2 separate regions of the Homo sapiens genome follow, and region 1 is linked to region 2. The links are contacts of gene promoters, found by promoter capture Hi-C in blood cells and fetal thymus (Javierre and others, 2016). All regions are on one chromosome and are shown on one strand. Each heading gives the region's core, a stretch centred on a gene start or on the middle of the fragment in contact. The rest is flanking DNA. Distances are from core to core; before and after follow the strand shown.

Region 1 (3,770 bases), core at 3-2,502, 930 kb after region 2:
CCTTTGCAGCATCATGGGAAGCAAATGTAATTGGCTTCTCTCTGGCTTTGCTGTGGCATAAAGTATCCAAGGAAAAGCTTCTTGCTCTTACTTTTCTGCTCTTCTGCTGAGACAAGCATTTGCCTTCACCAGTGGGAGGAGATTCCATCTGTGCCTAGATGATTTATTATCAAGAAAATGTGTTAATAATTGATAAGGAATCCTATAAAAATAAAATCATAAGTAGCCAAAATATAGATGAAGAGGCTCTCTTATCACAAACTAGGTATGCTTTCAATAGATAAATGACCCTCCTATAGGATATCTGCTGGGAAGAAGAACTAGAGATCTATTTTTAAATCCAAGTCATCATTTTCATCAGAGGTTCCCCAACTTTTAACTAGCATAAAGATATTAATTCTACATAACACACTAATTCATTCAATTTCCCTAGAAACAGTTCTTTATGCCAGTTTATTTTAGAAGAAGGTACACCAAGAGGGGACACTAACAATAAAAATCATGTGACACTTTATGAAATTTATTTTATGTATCAGAAGTAAGTATTTTGCCACAGTCACTTTAAGGTTTTTCAAATATTAAAATAATCCATGCCATTTACTGTGGAGTTTTGGTGGCCTTTGTTGCCCCTTCTTTTGGGCACTGCAGCAGGCTCCAATTTCTGAAGAAAATCCTGGTGGCATCCAAGGATATGCCCTCATCCCACCTCCATGTGGAGGGGAGGCAGCTTCTGTCCAGCGTGTGTGTGGCACAGGTTGTCAGCCCAGCCCACTGGCTGCCAGCTCACCCACATGGCTGTGCCCTGAGCTGGCACTGCAGGCAGCCACCTTGCAGGTAATGTCACGTGTAGGACCTGGAATCACTGCTGTGCAGTGCAAACCAAAATCAGGGTGAGAAACAATATTTCTGGAATATTATTTGAAAAGCAAGTAAGCTATTCCTTCATTTGAATCTTCTAAAAATCCCTCTCTCCAGTAATCCAGACAAACATGGAGCTCCATCCCTGGACCATGTTCTTTTGAGCTCCCTGGACTTGTTTTCATCAAATTACCCACTGGCCGACATTGAGGGACATTATGAACAAGAACCTGTGGAAACTGCTCACTGTGTTTACTACGAGGATGTTGCTGATTGCATTGCACTTGTTAATTACATTGTACATCCTCCCTGGGAGATCCCACAAGAAATTCTTTTCAGTCTGGGTCAGGAATGAATGTGCTTCCCTCAAGCAACTAATTAAAATTATTTGTTGTAATTTTATGACCACATTGAAGCATGTATCTGCTTTCTTCTTTGAAGGGATTACCAGAAAACGAAGTCAAATATAAAGTCGCCTTCTGTAATTTATGGGTTTAAATGTTTTATATTTTTGTTTCTAATTTTTATGTGAGAATATTATCTTAGTTTTTCCTATCCCTCCTACTTTCAGGGGTTTTTTTTCCTGCATTCCTTTTCCACTCAATTCAAGTGGCCTTTTATCTCATTTTTATCTATTTACGTAAGATACCTTAAAACCTTTAAAACAGGAAAATGAATAAATAAACAGACAGTAATATCTGGTACTTTCAATTCATTATTTCTCAGAGGCAAATAAGATTCTCTCTTTTCCTGAATTTATATACCAAGAAATAGAATGTAATTACATAATTTTATGGAATTGGAACAATTACATAGAATATTGTTCTGAACAAATCCACTAATTAATACTGAAAGCACCATTTCATAAAACATTGAAAGTAGGGCCATAAAGCCAAGGCCAGAGACAAGAGAAAGACAAAGAAAGTGGTTTAGGACACCAGGGCTCAGGGAAGATACCACATATTTTCTTCAAAGCTGCAAACCACAGATGATGATTTCCATGTGTAGTGGGTGGCACAGTGACCCCTAAAAGATACATCCAAGCAGAACCTCAGACTGTGACCTTATTTGGAATGAGTCTTTTCAAATGTAATTAAGGTAAGGATCTAGAGATGAAATCATCCTGAAATAGGATGGAACCCTAAATCCATTGATGAGAATCCTTATAAAAGACAGAAAAGGAAAAGACACAGGGACACACAGAGGAGAAAGCCAAGTGAAGACTACAGCAGAAACAGGTGGGCAGCCATGAGCCATGGAGCGCCAAGGGCTGCTGGCCACCACCAGAAGCTGGGAGAGAGGGACAGAGCAGATTCTCCCTCAGAGCCTCCTGAAGGAACCAAACCCGGAGACACCTGGATTTTGGACTTCTGTCCTCCAGAACTGTGAGGGAATGAATTTCTGTTGTTTTAAGCCACCTGGTTTGTGGTATTTTATTACAGCAGCCCTAGGAAACTAATGCACCGTCTTAGGTCTCAAGATTGAAATTGAGGTCATATTAACTCATGTTTAAGGTTTTAGAACCTCCCTCTGTGAATTTAATTCTTGTTAAAAATCACTTTTTAAAGTAAAGCTTCTAATGGCCAGTTGTGGCGGCTCACATCTGTAATCCTAAGACCTTGGGAGGCTGAAGTGGGAGGATTGCTTGACGCCAAGAGTTCAAGACCAACCTACCATTATAGTAAGACCTCATCTCAAAAAATAAAAAAGTAAAATTTAAAATAAATAAATAAAGCATCTGTAGTAAAAGTTTTAAAAAAATCCCAAGCACAAGTCAATCATTATTAGTCATATTAAATGGAAAGTGTACATTAGCCTAAAGATTTTAACTTTCCAGAATTCTATTCATTTTTCACCATCACGTATTTATATGTAGCTAATAGACAATGGTATAATATACAATAGTATGAAAAGGTGACTACAACTCATGTGAGCATGATTTCTGTTCTACAGGTTATGTTAAACATTATAGAACCCTTCAAAACATAGTCATTAACATTCTGTATATGTCATTGAAGTAGATCTTTTAAACAAACATTTTTAAAATATGGCAAGCAAAGCTGTCTTCCTCGGTACTGCCTATGGAGATGGCAGTCATCTTCTCCATGGCATCATGGCCGTTCTCAGATCCCTCATGAAGCCCAAGATCATCAAAAAGAGGACCAAGAAGTTCATCTAGCACCAGTTAGACAAACATGTCAAAATTAAGCGTAACTGACGGGAAACCCAGAGATATTGACAACATGGTTCGTAGAAAGTTCAAGGGCCAGATCTTGATGCCCAACACTGGTTATGGGCGCAACAAAAAAACACAAAGCACATGCTGCTGATGGCTTCCGGAAGTTCCTGGTCCACAACGCCAAGGAGCTGGAAGTGCTGCTGATGTGCAACAAATCTTACTTTGCTGAGATCACTCACAATGTTTCCTTCCAGAACCGCAAAGCCACATGGAAAGGGCCACCCAGCTGGCCATCAGAGTCACCAACCACAATGCCAGGTTGTGCAGCAAAGAAAATGAAGAGACAGCTCATGTGCATGTTTTGTGTTTCAATAAAACCACCATAAAAAACTGAAAAATAAAATATGGCAGGCAAAGATGACAATGAACTATCACATAGCTTCCAGGAAACAGAAAAAGGGTGAGAGAGAATATACTAAGTAAGAGAGCTCAGAACAAATAATAATATAAGACAAAACCTAAACGAGTATTACATAGCAATGAAAGAAGTTTACATTATCATTCAGGAGACACTTGTTTTTTCTATTAGGAAATAAGTAAAAGTGATTCCACAAAAGTAATAAGAAAGGTAATAAGAAAAATGAAACATGGCTGGGTGTGGCGGCTCGTGCCTGAAATCCCAGCACTTTTGGAGGCCAAGGCAGGCAGATCACTTGAGGCCAGGAGTTTCAGA
Region 2 (3,977 bases), core at 109-2,608:
ATGTCCTTTGCAGCAATATGGATGCAGCTGAAGGTCATTATCCTAAGTGAATTAACACAGAAACAGAAAACCAAATACCATATGTTCTCACTTCCAAGTGGCAGCTAAACACTGGATACACATGAACACAAAGATGGGAACAATAGACACTGGGGACTCCAAAAGGGGGAAGGCAAGAGTTGAATAACTACCTATCAAGCGCTATATTTACTATTTGGGTTACAGGATCATTAGAAGCCACAACCTCAGCATCGTGCAATATACTTATGTAACAAACCTGCACATGTACCCCCGAATCTAAAATAAAAAGTGAGATGAAATTTTTTTTAAAAGAAAACCTTTTTGCATTGTATCTGTTTGGGAACCTTTGGCCTCCTGTGCCTGGGTGTCTAAATCTCTTGCTAGACTTGGGAAGTTTTCATATAGTATTTTGTTGAACCATTTTTCCAACTCTATTGTTTTCTCTTTGCCTTCTGAGACTCCAAAATTTTGAATATTTGGTCACTTTATGGTGTCCTACATGTCATGTGGGTTTTGCTCATTTTTTAAAACATCTTTTTTATTTTTGTCTATATGAGTTATTTCAAAAGGAAATAGTCCACTTCAAATGGACTACTGCACCATTTGCTCCGTTTTAAAATATTACTATGCCTTAGGAAGCAATCTAGCCAGGAGGGTTATTTGACCTCACACAGGTATTGCTTTCCCACCTGTAATGCCATTCATCCAGAACTCCCCCTAACCCAGCAAGACTCTATTCAGTCATCAATCACTTCTTTTAGAAAACGTACCCACTACCCATATCACTCTAGAGTTGGTTTCGATGCCCTTGTGTTATTCTTAGCATTCGTCATACTGTATGGCAATTCTGTTTCCTCTATGGGGCTGCGAATGTTTCCAGGAACAAGAATAGGCTTCATCTTTTTCTTCCTCATACAGGGAAGTGACTGACATACAGTAAGGCATCCCACAAATTGTTCAATGAATCAACAGGAGGTGCAATGGCCAGAGGAACAATTTATACGTATGTAAGGCTATGTAAAGGCACGTAAAGCCAAACCGCTGTGAAAACCGCCTTCAGAAGTCAGTCGGCTACTAGGCAAATATACAGAAGCACACAGGACAAATCCATTCATTCTCCAGCTCCTACACGCCCGGGAAGCAGTTTTACTTTACAGCAAGTTCAAGAGTCGCACCGCAGATGCTGTAAAAACGAAAGAAGCCCACAGTTGGGACGAGGATTCCAGTTTTGCGTCACCGTCAAGGCGGGAAAGTTCCCGGCTGTCGGTTGGAGGGTGGGTCCTCGCCCCGCCCCGCCCCCTCGGGCCGCCCTTCCGCGCTTCCGGGAGGCTTGTCCCAAGCTCACGGACCCCTCGCTGGGTGCCGGTTAAGACCCCGCTCCCCGTCGCCAGTGCTATGGAGGCGGCGGCGGCGGTGGTGGCGGCAGAGGCGGAAGTGGAAAACGAAGACGGCGACAGCAGCTGCGGGGATGTATGCTTCATGGACAAAGGCTTGCAGAGGTAAAGGGCGCTCCGCAGCCAGGAGCGACCCGCGCACTCCCCAGAGCCGGGGCCACGAGTGGCTGGCGGCGACACCAGAGTGGAGGCGCGGCACTGCTTTACCAAGACCATAAGTGAACGCAGTCTGGCTTTCGGCCTCCCCGCTCCTCCAAAACTTACCTGCCGAAGTGCCAGGTTGAATGAGCCGTGGATGCCTTCCCGCCCGTGTCTCCTGCCCAGCGTTTCACACGACTCTGCTTAGCCTAGAAACTGCCCCAGGACCTTGTCCTCCACCAGCTTCTGACCACTCTTTCCTTCTGCTGGTTTTCCTTACTTACTGGTGGTTATTCCTTTGCTTGCCGTTTAATTGCTGGTTTTCTCGTGTTCTCTCGTCTTTCCTGTTCTTACCTCTGAAAAAAACCTGCAGGATAGTATCTCTGGCAGCTATGAGCGGGCAGTCGCTGCTGCCTGTTAGTTTTGCCTCAGTTCTCCTTGTCTGCATTCGAAATCATTTGTCCGTTACAGAACATTGCAATACATATATTCATATACTTTTTGAAAGTACTAAACTTACTATATTTAGTTCATCGTTTCCCTCTCTCTTGAAGCCCTGACTTGTGCAAAGCATATGAGGCACTTGGTTCTGTAATACTGTAAAGCAGGTCTCCACCTGCATTTCAGGCTCTTTAGTCTCGACCCGTAACATTTCTCCACTTACACTTTATTTACCTGTACTGAGCTACAGGCAATTCCATAGCAGACTTCTCTGTGCCTTTGCACATGCTGTTCCTTTGTAGCGTGTCCTCTACGCGAACTCTGCTACTGATAATTAAGCATCTTGTTCTGGATTCTGATTTAAACTTTGCCAGATGATCCCAAGAAGATGCTGTTCAAGGGACATTTTACATTTCTATTTAATACTAGCTGCCATTTACTGAATGCTATCTGTTGTGTGCATGTTATATACATTATCAGTAATCCTCACAGCAATTCTACAAGGTAGTAATTTTTCTCATTTACAAGTGATGAATGAGACTCAGAATCTATTGACAATTTGTTCATCTTTATACACTTCATGAAGAATTAAGTTCGGATTCAAACCCATTTTCCGTCTAATTTCACTATGCTTTTTCTATCTCACATTATCTGCACATTATTAATGTCGAGAAACTGAAATGTGTCAGAAAGTAAATGACTGTCATTAAGAGCATGTGTTAACAGCATAAGGTCTGGCACTAAATAAGAACTCAAGTAAATGACACAGCAGGATAAGTGGGAAATGCCCCAGATAGTCACATTTAAAGGTTGCTAGTTTGAAATTTGCAAATGCTTCCCTGCTGTCAGAGTTAGGTTTCCTACAGCTGTAAGATAGCTGCTACTCAACCTACAGCAGATGCCCGTGACATTGTGTGTTCCTGGGTGTATCTCCCATCTAGCAACTCCAAACTGTGTATGCTGTAGTTTGTGTTCCTGGAACTACTATCTTCAGGAGAAGCTTCAGTTATAAATAGTAATTGGAGTGAAGAGATGAGTTCTGTTTAGGGGAGATCCATTAACTTTCAACAAGGGAGGACAGGGACTTTTTCAATAGGAATTGCAATAACATGGTTTGTTTTTGAAAATGCAATAGACTGTGGATTAAATAGCTATTGCACACAAAGAAGAAAATAAAGTTATAATCTCCAGCATGAGATCTGGATTTACATATGCTCTGTTAGCTGCAAGAATTTGGGCAAGCTATTTAATTTCCATAAATTTAGGTATCCTTAAGATACCCACTGCTTAGAGTTATTGTGAGAATTAATTGAGGTAAGAAAACTGAGGCTCAGGTTGTCATTTGCTCAAATCACACAGCAAAACCGTGATAGAATGCAGATTCAAACTGGGATATTAACATTCCAAAGCCTTTACAGTTATTGACTACTATTCAGCACTGCCTTCAATATATGCTGATGACTGCACACAGGAGTTAGAAATGCCCACTGTCACTTGCCTGCCTTGAGCGGTTTCTTGTTTGTATAAATAATCCAAAATACTTGGTTGTGTTGTAAGAAGCACCGTGTTTTGTGAGACATTTCAAAGGTACCACAAATAGGAAAGATTTCATTCTAGAATGAATAGAGCACATATTTAGTATCTACGTGCTGTTTGGTTAATTTTAGTTATTTGGTCATGCTTTTAAAATCTATTTTTATAGTATATATTTTCTTTTATAGCATATCAGAATTATCTTTAGATTCAACTCTTCATGCCGTCAATCTTCATTGCAATAACATCTCCAAGATCGAAGCCATTGATCATATTTGGAATTTACAACATCTAGATCTGTCATCTAATCAAATAAGTAGAATTGAAGGACTAAACACACTGACAAAACTGTGCACATTAAATTTGTCCTGCAATTTGATTACAAAAGTAGAAGGTTTGTAAGTGATTTTCATTTAACACTTAGCGTAAGGAAAATGATTTAGGTCCATT

The links. The method cuts DNA at HindIII sites, captures the fragments that hold promoters and counts their contacts. A CHiCAGO score of 5 or more calls a contact.
Region 1: a fragment that was not itself captured here is called in contact with the fragment with the promoter of LRRCC1 in region 2 in 1 of 17 cell types (total B cells); the score reaches 6.2 in total B cells.

The regions. Positions count from the first base shown.
Region 1 is chr8:86,040,131-86,043,900 of GRCh38, forward strand. It overlaps the pseudogene RPL32P4. Among named protein-coding and RNA genes, the nearest start is that of PSKH2, 28 kb to the right of the region's middle. The HindIII fragment of the contact is 2,354 bases long and covers 76-2,429 here.
Region 2 is chr8:85,105,880-85,109,856 of GRCh38, forward strand. It overlaps LRRCC1 (leucine rich repeat and coiled-coil centrosomal protein 1), which reads left to right and starts at 1,359. Exons shown (of 19, transcript NM_033402.5): 1 at 1,359-1,520; 2 at 3,716-3,921. The coding sequence starts at 1,417. LOC105375933 (a long non-coding RNA gene) reads right to left here and starts at 1,983. Exons shown (of 3, transcript XR_929117.3): 1 at 1,680-1,983. RefSeq lists an enhancer at 1,471-1,530. The HindIII fragment of the contact is 5,185 bases long and covers 1-2,992 here.